Regions from separate parts of the Homo sapiens genome. Here all the other regions are linked to region 3. Evidence: promoter capture Hi-C in human tissues and cell types (Jung and others, 2019). All regions are on one chromosome and are shown on one strand. Each heading gives the region's core, a stretch centred on a gene start or on the middle of the fragment in contact. The rest is flanking DNA. Distances are from core to core; before and after follow the strand shown.

What was found. Contacts are between HindIII fragments. The study calls those that stand out against the background at their distance.
Region 1: a fragment that was not itself captured here is called in contact with the fragment with the promoter of ZNF516 in region 3 in 1 of the 25 tissues and cell types used here (aorta).
Region 2: a fragment that was not itself captured here is called in contact with the fragment with the promoter of ZNF516 in region 3 in 1 of the 25 tissues and cell types used here (lymphoblastoid cells).
Region 4: a contact is called between a fragment that was not itself captured here and the fragment with the promoter of ZNF516 in region 3, in 1 of the 25 tissues and cell types used here (lymphoblastoid cells).

What each region holds. Positions count from the first base shown.
Region 1 is chr18:76,949,061-76,952,305 of GRCh38, reverse strand. The region is part of intron 27 of ZNF236 (zinc finger protein 236); the gene reads right to left. Among named protein-coding and RNA genes, the nearest start is that of MBP-AS1, 30 kb to the left of the region's middle. The HindIII fragment of the contact is 4,351 bases long and covers 1-3,245 here.
Region 2 is chr18:76,977,311-76,980,633 of GRCh38, reverse strand. It overlaps MBP (myelin basic protein), which reads left to right. Exons shown (of 9, transcript NM_001025101.2): 9 at 163-1,801. The coding sequence ends at 207. MBP-AS1 (MBP antisense RNA 1) reads right to left here and starts at 205. Exons shown (of 3, transcript XR_935667.3): 1 at 1-205. The HindIII fragment of the contact is 4,702 bases long and covers 1-3,323 here.
Region 3 is chr18:76,493,767-76,496,766 of GRCh38, reverse strand. It overlaps ZNF516 (zinc finger protein 516), which reads left to right and starts at 1,525. Exons shown (of 7, transcript NM_014643.4): 1 at 1,525-1,623. ZNF516-DT (ZNF516 divergent transcript) reads right to left here and starts at 1,428. Exons shown (of 2, transcript NR_164145.1): 1 at 981-1,428; 2 at 1-488. It overlaps ZNF516-AS1 (ZNF516 antisense RNA 1), which reads right to left. Exons shown (of 2, transcript NR_136504.1): 2 at 2,849-3,000. RefSeq lists silencers at 1,416-1,475, 1,606-1,705, 2,406-2,495. The HindIII fragment of the contact is 9,582 bases long and covers 1-3,000 here.
Region 4 is chr18:76,924,855-76,928,341 of GRCh38, reverse strand. ZNF236 (zinc finger protein 236) reads right to left here. Exons shown (of 31, transcript NM_001306089.2): 22 at 2,788-3,153; 23 at 1,160-1,305; 24 at 825-1,065; 25 at 236-415. Among named protein-coding and RNA genes, the nearest start is that of MBP-AS1, 54 kb to the left of the region's middle. The HindIII fragment of the contact is 3,112 bases long and covers 1-3,038 here.

The sequences.
Region 1 (3,245 bases), core at 247-2,746, 460 kb before region 3:
ATTTACAGAAAACATCTAAGAGAATTTCTCTTACTAATTATAGGCATACCTTGTTTTCATTGAACTTTGCTTTTTTTGTCCTCCATAGATATCCTGTCGTTTTTACAAATTGAAAGTTTGTGGCGAGGCTGCTTCGAGCAAGTCTACTGGTGCCATTTTTCCAACGGCACATGCTCAGTTCGTGTGTGTGTCACATTTTGGTAATTCTCGCAATATTTCAAACTTTTTCATTACAGCGTATCTATTACAGTGATCTGTGATTAGCGATCTTTGATGTTACTATTGTAATTGTGTTGAGGCACCACAAACCCCACCCACATAAAATGGCAAACTTAACCTATAAATGTTTGTGTCTGACTGCTTCACCAACTGGCCATCCCACCTCTCCTTGGGCCTCCCTATTCTCTGAGACACAACAATACTAAAATGAGGCCAATTAATGATCCCACAATGCCTGTAAGTGTTCAAGTGAAACGAAGAGTCACACATCCCTCACTTCAAAACCTAGAAATGATTAAGCTTAATGAGGAAGGCACGCAGAGAGCTGAGACAGGCTGAAAGCTCAGCCTCTTGTGTCAAACTATTAGCCAACTTGTGAAATGAAGGAAAGGTTCTTGAAGGAAATTAAAAGTGTTATCCAGTGAGCCCATGAATGATAAGAAAGTGAAACTGCACTGTTGCTGATAAGCAGAAAGTTTTAATGGCCTAGACAGATCAAAACAGCCACAATCCTCGCTTAAGCCAAAGCCTAATCCAGAGCAAGACTCTAACTCTCTTCCATGTTATGAAGGCCGAGAGGTGAGGGAGCTGCAGAAGAAAAGCTGGAAACTAGCAGAGGTCAATCCATGAGAACTAAGGAAAGAAGCCACCCTCCATAACATAGCAGTGCAAGGTGAAGCAGCAAGTGTTGCTGGAGAAGCTGCAGCAAGTTCTCCAGAACATCTAGCCAAGAGCATCGATGAAGGTCACTCCATTAAACAACAGATTTTCAGTGTAAACAGAACAGCTTTATAGTGGAAGAAGATGGCTCTAGGACTTTCATAGCTACAGAAAAGTCAGTGTCTGGCTTCAAAGGACAGGCTGACTCTCTTGTGAGGGGCTAGTGCAGCTAGTGACTTTAAGTTGAAGCCAATGCTCATTTACCATTCCAAAAATCCTAAGGCCCTTAAGAATGATGCTAAATCCATTCTTTCTGTGCTCTACAAATGAAACAATAAAGCCTGAATGACAGCACGTCTGTTTACAGCATGATTTGCTGAATATTTTAAGCCCACTGCTGAGACCTACTGGTCAGAAAAAATGATTCCTTTCAAAATATTCCTGCTCATTGACAATGCACCTGGTCACCCAAGAGCTGTGATGGAGATGTACAAAGAGATGAATGTTGCTTTCATGTCTGCTAACATGACATCCACACTGTAGCCCATGGATGAAGGAGTAATTTCAACTTTCAAGTCTTACTAAGAAATACATCTCATAAGGCTGTAGCCGACATAGATAGTGATTCCTATGATGGATCTGGGCAAAGTAAAGTGAAAATCTGTGGAAAGGATTCACCACTCTATATGCCATTAAGAACATTTGTGATTCATGGGAGGAAGTCAAAATATCAACATTAACAGGAGTTTGGAAGAAGTTGATTCCAGCCCTCATGGATGACTTTGAGAGGTTCAAGACTTCAGCAGAAGAAGTAACTACAGATGTGGAGGAATGGGCAACAGAATTAGAAATGGAGCCTGAAGATGACTGAATTGCTGCAATCTCATGGTATATATAACTCAGCAGATAAGGATCTCATGGTATATATAACTGAGCAGATAAGGATCTCATGGTATATATAACTGAGCAGATAGGGATCTAAAGGTATATATAACTTGAGCAGACAAGGAGTTGCTTCTTATGGATGAGCAAAGAAAGCAGTTACTTGAGACGGAATCTACTCCTGGTGATGATGCGGTGAACATTGTTGAAATTACAACAAAAGATTTAAAAGATTACAGAAACTTAGTAAAGCAGCAGTGGGCTTTGAGAGATGGACTCCAATTTTGAAAGAGGTTCTACTTTGCGTAAAATGCTATCAAACATCATTGCATGCTATGGGGAAATCTTTCATGAAAGGAAGAATCAACGCAGCAAACTTCACTGTTGTCTTATTTTAAGAAATCGTCACGGCCACCCCAAACTTCAACAACCACCACCTTGATCAGTCAGCAGCCATCAACATCAAGGCAAGACCCTCAACCAGCAAAAAGATTACAACTCACTGAAGGCTCAGGTGATCGTTAGCATTTTTAGCAATAAGGTATTTTTAAATTAAGGTATGTACATTTAAAAAAAAAACGTAATGCTGGTCAGGCACAGTGGCTCATGCCTGTAATCCCAGCACTGTGGGAGGCTGAGGTGGGCGATCACTTGAGCTCAGGAGTTTGAGACCAGCCTGGCAACATGGCAAAATCCCATCTCTACTAAAAATACAAAAATTAGCCAGGTGTGGTGGTGCACACCTGTGATTCCAGCTACTTGGGAGGCTGAGGCAGGAGAATCACTTGAACCCAGGAGGCGGAGGTTGCAGTGAGCTGAGATTGCACCACTGCACTCTAGCCTGGGCAACAGAGCAAGACTCTGTCTCAAAAAAAAAAAAAAAGAGAAATAATGCTGCTGAACACTATTATTACAGTATAGTATAAACATCATATGCCCTGGGAAACCAGAAAACTAAATCATAATGTTAATGTATGACTTTGTTGTGATAATCGCTTTATTGCAGTGCTCTAGAACTGAATGCATGTTATCTCTGAGGTATGCCTGTATTCACTCATACAGATTGGTTATCTACCTCATTTTTATATTTAATCTGTCAAATTTTGAAAAAAATTACAAGCTAGACCAAGTTTTAATATTTGGTTTCTCTCATTTCCATCTAATGGAATATGGAAGTTAAAACGGAATATATCACTTCAGTGGAGACATTTCAAACTAATCTTAACATAGGATTACTCTACAAACATTATTCTTCTACCTATATTAAACCAAATGCTAAAATCATAATGTTAAAAAATAGCAAAGTAGTTTCATTTACTAGTCACATAAAATATAGGAATTAGGTAAGGTGTGCCTTGGAACTGATTTAGGAACTCTGAAACATACCAGACTAATAAGGTTTCACTACAAAAGCATCATGAGAAAGAGAGCTTAAAAATATGACCAAGCTGCCAATGCTTTTTCTGTCTCAATGAATGTGTGTG
Region 2 (3,323 bases), core at 307-2,806, 480 kb before region 3:
AGAAATGGAATGAAAAGACCAGCTCTCCGGGGTGCCATTTCTATTAGCAGATGAGAGAGACACCCAATGGCTCAGCATCCACCCGGGACCACAGAAGAGGGGATGCTGGTGTGGGAGGACCCTGCGGCACTCTCGTCCTAACTCCTCTCTCTTCCTTTTCAGGGAGGAAGAGATAGTCGCTCTGGATCACCCATGGCTAGACGCTGAAAACCCACCTGGTTCCGGAATCCTGTCCTCAGCTTCTTAATATAACTGCCTTAAAACTTTAATCCCACTTGCCCCTGTTACCTAATTAGAGCAGATGACCCCTCCCCTAATGCCTGCGGAGTTGTGCACGTAGTAGGGTCAGGCCACGGCAGCCTACCGGCAATTTCCGGCCAACAGTTAAATGAGAACATGAAAACAGAAAACGGTTAAAACTGTCCCTTTCTGTGTGAAGATCACGTTCCTTCCCCCGCAATGTGCCCCCAGACGCACGTGGGTCTTCAGGGGGCCAGGTGCACAGACGTCCCTCCACGTTCACCCCTCCACCCTTGGACTTTCTTTTCGCCGTGGCTGCGGCACCCTTGCGCTTTTGCTGGTCACTGCCATGGAGGCACACAGCTGCAGAGACAGAGAGGACGTGGGCGGCAGAGAGGACTGTTGACATCCAAGCTTCCTTTGTTTTTTTTTCCTGTCCTTCTCTCACCTCCTAAAGTAGACTTCATTTTTCCTAACAGGATTAGACAGTCAAGGAGTGGCTTACTACATGTGGGAGCTTTTGGTATGTGACATGCGGGCTGGGCAGCTGTTAGAGTCCAACGTGGGGCAGCACAGAGAGGGGGCCACCTCCCCAGGCCGTGGCTGCCCACACACCCCAATTAGCTGAATTCGCGTGTGGCAGAGGGAGGAAAAGGAGGCAAACGTGGGCTGGGCAATGGCCTCACATAGGAAACAGGGTCTTCCTGGAGATTTGGTGATGGAGATGTCAAGCAGGTGGCCTCTGGACGTCACCGTTGCCCTGCATGGTGGCCCCAGAGCAGCCTCTATGAACAACCTCGTTTCCAAACCACAGCCCACAGCCGGAGAGTCCAGGAAGACTTGCGCACTCAGAGCAGAAGGGTAGGAGTCCTCTAGACAGCCTCGCAGCCGCGCCAGTCGCCCATAGACACTGGCTGTGACCGGGCGTGCTGGCAGCGGCAGTGCACAGTGGCCAGCACTAACCCTCCCTGAGAAGATAACCGGCTCATTCACTTCCTCCCAGAAGACGCGTGGTAGCGAGTAGGCACAGGCGTGCACCTGCTCCCGAATTACTCACCGAGACACACGGGCTGAGCAGACGGCCCCGTGGATGGAGACAAAGAGCTCTTCTGACCATATCCTTCTTAACACCCGCTGGCATCTCCTTTCGCGCCTCCCTCCCTAACCTACTGACCCACCTTTTGATTTTAGCGCACCTGTGATTGATAGGCCTTCCAAAGAGTCCCACGCTGGCATCACCCTCCCCGAGGACGGAGATGAGGAGTAGTCAGCGTGATGCCAAAACGCGTCTTCTTAATCCAATTCTAATTCTGAATGTTTCGTGTGGGCTTAATACCATGTCTATTAATATATAGCCTCGATGATGAGAGAGTTACAAAGAACAAAACTCCAGACACAAACCTCCAAATTTTTCAGCAGAAGCACTCTGCGTCGCTGAGCTGAGGTCGGCTCTGCGATCCATACGTGGCCGCACCCACACAGCACGTGCTGTGACGATGGCTGAACGGAAAGTGTACACTGTTCCTGAATATTGAAATAAAACAATAAACTTTTAATGGTATTTGCATGGGTGTCTTCTTTTGTGTTCCGGGCTGTAGCACACAGGCCCACATCAAGCGAGAGCCAGGTGTGCAGAGCAAATGTGACTCGGTGCCTCTGGGTCTCCAGGCAGGGCTGCCTGGCGGTGCCTGTTGGAGGGGGCATCCTCATCAGAGGGTCGATGGCTACTGAAGAAAGTGGAACAGAGGTAGTTGTTAGGGCACTGATTCTCTCACCAGGAAAAAAATATTTAGTGTCTCTGAAGACAAGCTTCCAAGTCTGTCTGTGTTCTGCTGTGTGGCTAGTGTACACACCCTGCAGATGTGAACCCAGGAGTCTTGGACGTGTTCCCCTTGCCACCTTTTTCTCTGAAAGCATGAAAGAGCGTGAAGCAATGTTTTACTTATAGTTACCTTTGGTTACAAGAATTTTTCTTCAAAAAGATAGACGAAAGTCTCTTTTGTTTTTTCTTTTTCTTTTGAGACAGGATCTTACTTTGCCACCCAGGTTGGAGTGCAGTGCTGCAATCTTGGCTCACTGCAGCCTTAACCTCCCAGGCTCAAGCTATCCTCCTGCCAAAGCCTTCCACATAGCTGGGACTACAGGTACACGCCACCACACCCAGCTAAAATTTTTGTATTTTTTGTAGAGACGGGATCTCGCCATGTTGCCCAGGCTGGTCCCATCCTGACCTCAAGCAGATCTGCCCACCTCAGCCTCCCAACGTGCTAGGATTACAGGCGTGAGCCACCGCACCCAGCCTTTGTTTTGCTTTTAATGGAATCACCAGTTCCCCTCCGTGTCTCAGCAGCAGCTGTGAGAAATGCTTTGCATCTGTGACCTTTATGAAGGGGAACTTCCATGCTGAATGAGGGTAGGATTACATGCTCCTGTTTCCCGGGGGTCAGAGAGCCTCAGACTCCAGCATGATAAGCAGGGTGAGAAGCTTGAGAATATGATTGCATTCATTGCAATAGCAGGAAAAACTGCCGAGGCTGGAGGCATGGCCACCTGAGCTCGCCTGGCAGGCGTGGCAGACAGAAAGCCCACGTTCACTGGCTACACTTCTCTGCCCAGACCCCTTCCAACTGAGGAATTTGGAAAATCATGCAAAGATAATTACATTTTAAAAATTGTATTCTTTTCATTGGCAAGTCTAAATGTAACATATGTGGAAAATGCATTAAAAGGCAAACCAAGGGTACATCATAAGCTAGCATTCACCATGACAGTACAATACTTGGGTGAGTATTTTAAAATAAAACACAGCAAGATAGGAACTGAGCCAGGGAGCTTGTGTGCTCACTGAACGCTTGCCTGAAGAGGCCCGCCTACTTTCTCCTGAAGGTGACTGGAAATTAACTTACCAGGCTGAGAGCCAAGAGGAGGGGCTGCTGGAGCCCCAGCCTCATGGACGCAGATGCCCTTCCCCACCACCCGCGCAGCCTGTCAGGACCTTCCCCATGGCCTGCGCAGGCTGTCAGGACCACAGTCAGTAGAGGCTAGAGGGGCCGTGAGGGTCTGTGGAACTGAACATAGAAAGC
Region 3 (3,000 bases), core at 276-2,775:
ATACATCCCACTTAGGCATTCATGCTGAAGCCAGCAACAATTGTCCGTGACCTTTAACATGCCCGCTCTCCAAATCAGTGCAGGTCGTTAGTCACACGGAGCTTACATTTGAGGACTCGCGGATCCTTCATAGCGGAGGTTGTCCCTGTCTTTCTGCCTGACTCCCCCCCGCCCCCCGACCCCGACACACACTCCCCACCGCCCCCAGAAACATCACACATGCAGAATGCCCCCCCCGTCTGATCGCCAGCTTTCGGGCACATGCGCCTCCCTTTGCAGCGCGTCTGGAGTAGTTTCTTTTGTAAACGCCCTAAGTTGGGGAGGGCCGCGGGCTGCGAGTGTGAGGCGCAGAGAGAGACGCCGCCGCTGAGGTAACCGCCAGGATTGCAGCGCTGATTGCTACGCGGAGCCACGTTGGGCGTCTTGGACGGAATCCACCTCCACTGCGGAGTTATCACGAGGAGAAGGAGAACAATACGGCCAGGAGCCTGGTGGGAGAAGATAGTGTTACCCCTCCGCAGGCCGCAGCTCCCCGGGTCTACGTCACCGGCCGTGAAGGGGCGCTCGCCCTCGCTAGCTCCGACCCGCCCCTCCCCCGCCCCCGCGCGCCCGCCCTCCCCTCCCCCACCCCGGCCATCCCTGCCCTGTAACAGGAGAGCGTTTTGGAGTCAAATTAGGATTTCTAGTCCCAGACTCAACTTATTACAACTAACTACTGCTCGTGGGGAGTAGGTGAGGTGAAGAAATGAAGTTTTAAGAACAGAAAAATAAGAGTTGAACTTTCGAGGCTACCGGTAAACAACCCCTTCATTTTTAAATGGCCGGGTGGCAGAGCCGCTGTTTGAAGTCTTTCCAGCGGGACCTCTGTGACCCTTGATTCAGGACTTAATGTATTGATCCTGCATCTGAACACCCCCAGAGGCATTTACCAGGAAGTTGAGTGACACGCACACGCTACGCCGTGTGTAATGCACACGCACCTGGGACCCCCGAAGGGGTGTCCCCATTTCAGTCCAGATGGGGCGCAGTGCCCAGGTACCCGCCGGCGGGACCCGCATCCCGAGCACGTCTGTACGTATGGATGCGCGTGTGCGCGCGGAAACGGCCTCCGGGAGCCGGGGCTGCAGCAGCCTTAGACCTTGACGAGGGGCGACCACTGGCCGCTGGAACCGTGATTCAGTGCTATTAGGGGAGGAATTGGCTGTGTCTGAGTCACTGCAAGCCTCCAGACTGTCCCCTCAGTGTGGCAGAACTTTGTGCTGATGAGACAATAGTGGAGTGTGCGTTTCCTACAGGGCAGACCATTTCCAGGCTGGGGGAAGCCTCCGGCCTGCGCCGGGCCGTGAGCGCCCGGCCCCCTCCCCGTGCCGCGCAGCCCCCCGAGCCCGGCTCGCGCCGGGGCCCCCGCGGGGCGGACGCGTCCGGGGCGCGCGCGGGCGGCGCGAGGAGGGGGCCGGGCGCGTGGCGGGCCCCGCGCGCCCTCGCGCGTCCCCCGCGCCCGGGCGCAGCTGGCGCGGTCGGTCTAGTGCAGCGCTCGGCTCCGCGCCGCGGGCGCTCGGCTTCACCTTCAGATGCGCGGGGCGTGCGCGTCCTCCTCCCCAGGCCCGCCGCCTCCCTGCCAAGGTAGGGGCCGCGGGCGGGGGGAGGGCTGCGCCGCAGGGGCCGCGGGCGGGCGGTGGGCGCGGGGCCCGGAGCCCCGACGTGCCCCGTACTCTGGTGTGCGCCGCTGGGGGTAGGGGGGGAGGCGCTGGGGAGGGGGGTGCGCCGGGGAGGGGCCCCCCGGGCGCGGGGAGGGCTACTTGGCTTTCCCGGTGGGTAGTTGCTCTGCTCGTCAATTCCAGGATAGGGGAAGATGCAACTTCGGGCGGCGGGGCGAGCGCCCGGGAGGTGGTTTTTACCGCAGTGGAGGGGCGGGGTGGGGGCCGGGGTGGGAGCGCGGAAGAGGCTCTGGCTTTGTACACTTTGTCAAAGGCGACGCGGGAGGAGGGGAGCTCGGATGCGCTCTCCATCCATTAGGAGACAAAGAGCAAATTGCCTTACTTTAAAGTAAAACGCTCCGGCTAATGAAGGTGGGTGATGGGGCTGCGGGCCCGAGGAGCCGCTTCAATTATTAAGGGTTTGGCGGATGGGATCGATGCCTGTGGGCACCGCGCGCTGCTGCCTAGGGGACGTGTTTGCGTGGAGGTGGGGGTGGCCTTGTTTTTTACGGCCCCCTCCCCGGCTGCTTGCCAGTCTGCTGGGAGCTTCTAAGTGACCCTAACGTTAAAGAAGTGAGAGGTCCTGGAAGGGAAGTTCGGGCGGGGGTGGGGGTGGGGGCGAGGGTCTGGCACCGACTCGGAGAGGGGTGGGCAGGGACTCCTCGGAGCTGCGCCCCGCCGGGTGCGGGTGGGGGAGGCCTCGGTGGCGAGATGAACCCGGGTGTATGAAGGAAGAATGCGGTGGGGTGTGTGTGGTTGGGCGGGAGGTGGGGGGAGGCGCCTCCGCTGCCATTTCCAGGGAGAACTAACAGACTGAATAGTTACGATCAGTATTTAGATTAAACCGCCTCAAGTTTTAACGAAACTTTGTATGAATAAGTTTGTTAAATGGCAGCCGAGTGGGGTATTTAAAAGCAGCAGTTTATGTGTGTGGTGAGGAAAGCCAGTGGACCCCCGCAATTAGGGACCAGAGGGAACCAGCCTTTTACCCGAAAAATGTGGGTCTGTAAGTCAGCCTCATCTATTATCAGCGTTAATAAGCTTCCCGCAGCAGACCGGGAGCTCTGGGGGCTGTGTGTGTGTCTTACTCATTCCGCTGATAAAGAGTCACCGGGTCTCCGGGTGTGCAAAGATCAACTTGCGCAGCCCTCTTTTTAAATATATTCATTCTGTGCTTTATTTAATCCAGATGCACAAAAAGCCATTTGCTGCTGCATTGTTGGTTTACATTTTTTGAAAAGGCGACTGGTGTAACCTGTGGAATTTGAAATGCAAATAAGAGCCTGTGGGAGTAGAGGCAGAA
Region 4 (3,487 bases), core at 233-2,732, 430 kb before region 3:
ATAACTGACTGTACTCAAACTGGAAGTGACATGAGAAACTATAATTTTTCATTTCTGGTGCCAGATCTGAATTAGAATACATTATTTTCACTAAACTTCAATTTCTCCCATAAATTATAAATACATATTGAGCACGGGCTTTATGCACAGCAGAGTATTGTAGGAAAAGAGATAGTAAGATATACAGTACTTAAATTGCAGGGTGAAAAGATGTTTAAAATTATAACTTACTAACCGGAGATAGTCAGGGTAATTTCCTGTGGAGACCCCGAGGAAGACGTGGCAGTGGGCCCAGCGGCCTGTGCCAGGACCTGGCTCAGGCTGGAGTTGTTAATGGTCAGGGTGATCTCGTGGGGACCGCCGGAGGGGGACACTAGACCTTGCGAAGTCATCACTTGAGTGAGGTCTTGGGTCCCTGATTGTCATTACAAAGCAAAACAAAGTTGAGATTCAAAATAACCAATTTCCCCTGTTTTTATATTAAAAATATTTTAATTAAACTGTTATTACATATTTCAATAAGACAAAGATTTAAAACAAAGCATCAGTCATCTCTAATTCCTTCGTCTAAGAAGAAAGCCTTGTGAGGAAATGAAGCCAGGATGAAAAGAGTAATTAAATGAAGGTAGTAATAATCTAAGAGCATATATTAAATACATATCATTAATTGTAAGAAAAGCTTATTTTATTCTCAGGACATTTGATTTATTCTCTTCTACAAAGAGAAGAAAATGACATCATAACATCCTAAATTCAAATATGTAATCACAAGCAAGAAACTGAAACTCCAGCTGTCAAAATAAGCAAAAGTGAGTGGCTCTTACCACTGCTGTTAGTGGTCAGCACTGAATCCTGCTCAGACAGCGGGCCTATGGTCAGGTTCGCAGAGGTCACTGTGGGCTGTAAGGACAGGCCTGAGATGGGCTGGATGACAACACTGGCAGGGACCGTGCTGTCCGATGTCTGGAGAGAGCTGTTCTGTGGGGCCAGGCCAGGCTCCCCCGTGAGCTGCTGAGCCAATAGGTTGCCCTGCTGTAGCGTCTGCTGCAGAATGCTTGGATCAATCTGAAAAGCAGCACAGGTACTTGTAATGAAAACTTCATGCTTCTCTGTGATGCCAAGAGAATTACAGCACAGGAGACCATGGAAGGTGTCATACCTGCAACGTAATGTTATTAATGCTGGCAGCATCGATTCCAGAAATCTGTACATTTGGTCCAACCAAGTTAGCAGCCAACTGTAACTGGATGCCTTCTAGGGTAGCCAGGCTCCCATCTGTCAGAGACACGGTCAGGTCACCCCCAGCTGGCCAGAGAAAGAGAAAGAGAATGATCAAATATTATGAATGCTTCTTAAAACTAAAGTAATTCATTTTTTACATAGGGATTTTTAAATACATAAGTTGTACACATTATGTCAATACAATGTTGTTGTGGAATACGAACACCTACTTTATACCATATACACATATATGCTGTTTAATCACCCTTTATACCATATACACACACTGTCTAATCACCCCTTATTTATACCATATACACACACACTGTCTAATCACCCTTTATACCATACACACACACTGTCTAATCACCCTTTATACCATACACACACATGGTCTAATCACCCTTTATACCATACACACAGTCTAATCACTCTTTATACCATATATACACACACAGTCTAATCACCCTTTATACCATATATACACACACTGTCTAATCACCCTTTATACCATATATACACACACTGTCTAATCATACACACTGTCTAATCACCCTTTATACCATATATACACACACAGTCTAATTACCCCAGAAACCTACTTTCTACCATATACGCACATATACTGTCTAATCACCCATTATACCATATATACACACAATGTCTAATCACCCCAGAAACCTACTTTATACCATACACAAATACACTGTCTAATCACCCCAGAACAACTCTGTAAAACAGATACTCCTTTATGCCATACGCATACACTGTCTAATCACCCGCGAAATCTCATTTATACCATATACACATACACTGTCTCATCACCTCAGAAACCTACTTTTTACTATATCCACATACAGTCTAATCACCGCAGAGCAACTCTGTGAAACAGATACACTTTATACCATACACACACACTGTCTAATCACCCCAGAACTCTGTGAAATGGATACTCATATTGCCCACTTTAAACGTATCAGAAAAGTAGCTCAAAAAGATTCTACTGATTAGCCAAAGGTTCAAAACAACCACTACTACTGAGTGGTGGTCAGGCTGCAATCCTGCCACGAGTCACAGAAACAGAAAGAAGGGCACACAGGACATCTGACTGCCATGTACAACGGCTGCATTTACTCACAGGCACACAAATCAACACAACTAGCTAAAATGTAACACTTCTCAAGCACTATGAGACGCAAGAACAACTGGAAAACTGCACTATATCAAAAACAATGCTATTGAGTATTTATAAATTACACTTCTCACTACTAAATTTATGAGAATGCCAACTGAGTAAAAACAGGTTTACACCCACTAAAAACAAAAGCTAAACAAAGTGCTTAGTGTAAAAAAGCAGCTGGCATGGAAGACAGAATGCGAAATGGAAAGGAGCAATGTCTGCAAGACGGAATTCCAATTTTTCCGAATGCCTTATAAGGAAAAGGCTCAAAGAAGGGAAACGTGGTGCTACGGTAAACAACATCTCTTCTGTCGTGGGAACAGACAGAAGCAGCACAGAACAGTTCAATCACTGTGCTGCTCTCATTCCCTCGGCTCAGCGTTTACCTGACACAGAGGCAGGGAGAATAGCTTGGCCCACCAGTCCTGGTTGCAGCAGATTCTGATCAAACTGTCCTGTTAGAACAGAGTTGTTCATGATAAACACGTTTGGGTCAGTAGAGGAGGAGTTGAGGAGGTTTACAGGCTGCAGTCCTTCCGATGAGCTTCGAGTCATAGGCTTTCTGGCCTTCTTTGGGTCTGGTTTATAATGAAACTGCATGTGTGTCTTTCTTCTACCCGAGGTACGGAAACGCAGCTCGCAATGCGGGCATTTGAAGGGCTTGGCTCCCGTGTGCAGGCGCATGTGGACCTTCAGACTTCCCTTCGTGGAGAAGGCGTTGCTGCAGACGTGACAGCTGAAGAGCTTCTGACCTGTGAAAAGCCCAGCCAAGAATCAACAGAGGCGATGGCAGTCGCGACACTCACCCCCACCCCACTCAGCTGTCACTATGGATGTAAATATGTTGAATCAGTGGATGGAAGTACTTTAATGAGAATCCCTTTCACCTATAAGATGTTACGGACGTCACAGGCAATTGCTGCAGTATTGTAAATTTAACAGTGTATTGTTTACAATTTGAATTTAGCATTTTCACAAGCCTTTGAGGTTTACAGTGTTTCTAAACCACTGCATTATTCTGAACCTTGATTGGAGTAGTTGATTTATATTTATCAGAAGCTAATGGGTGGTATGACTTAACAGCCC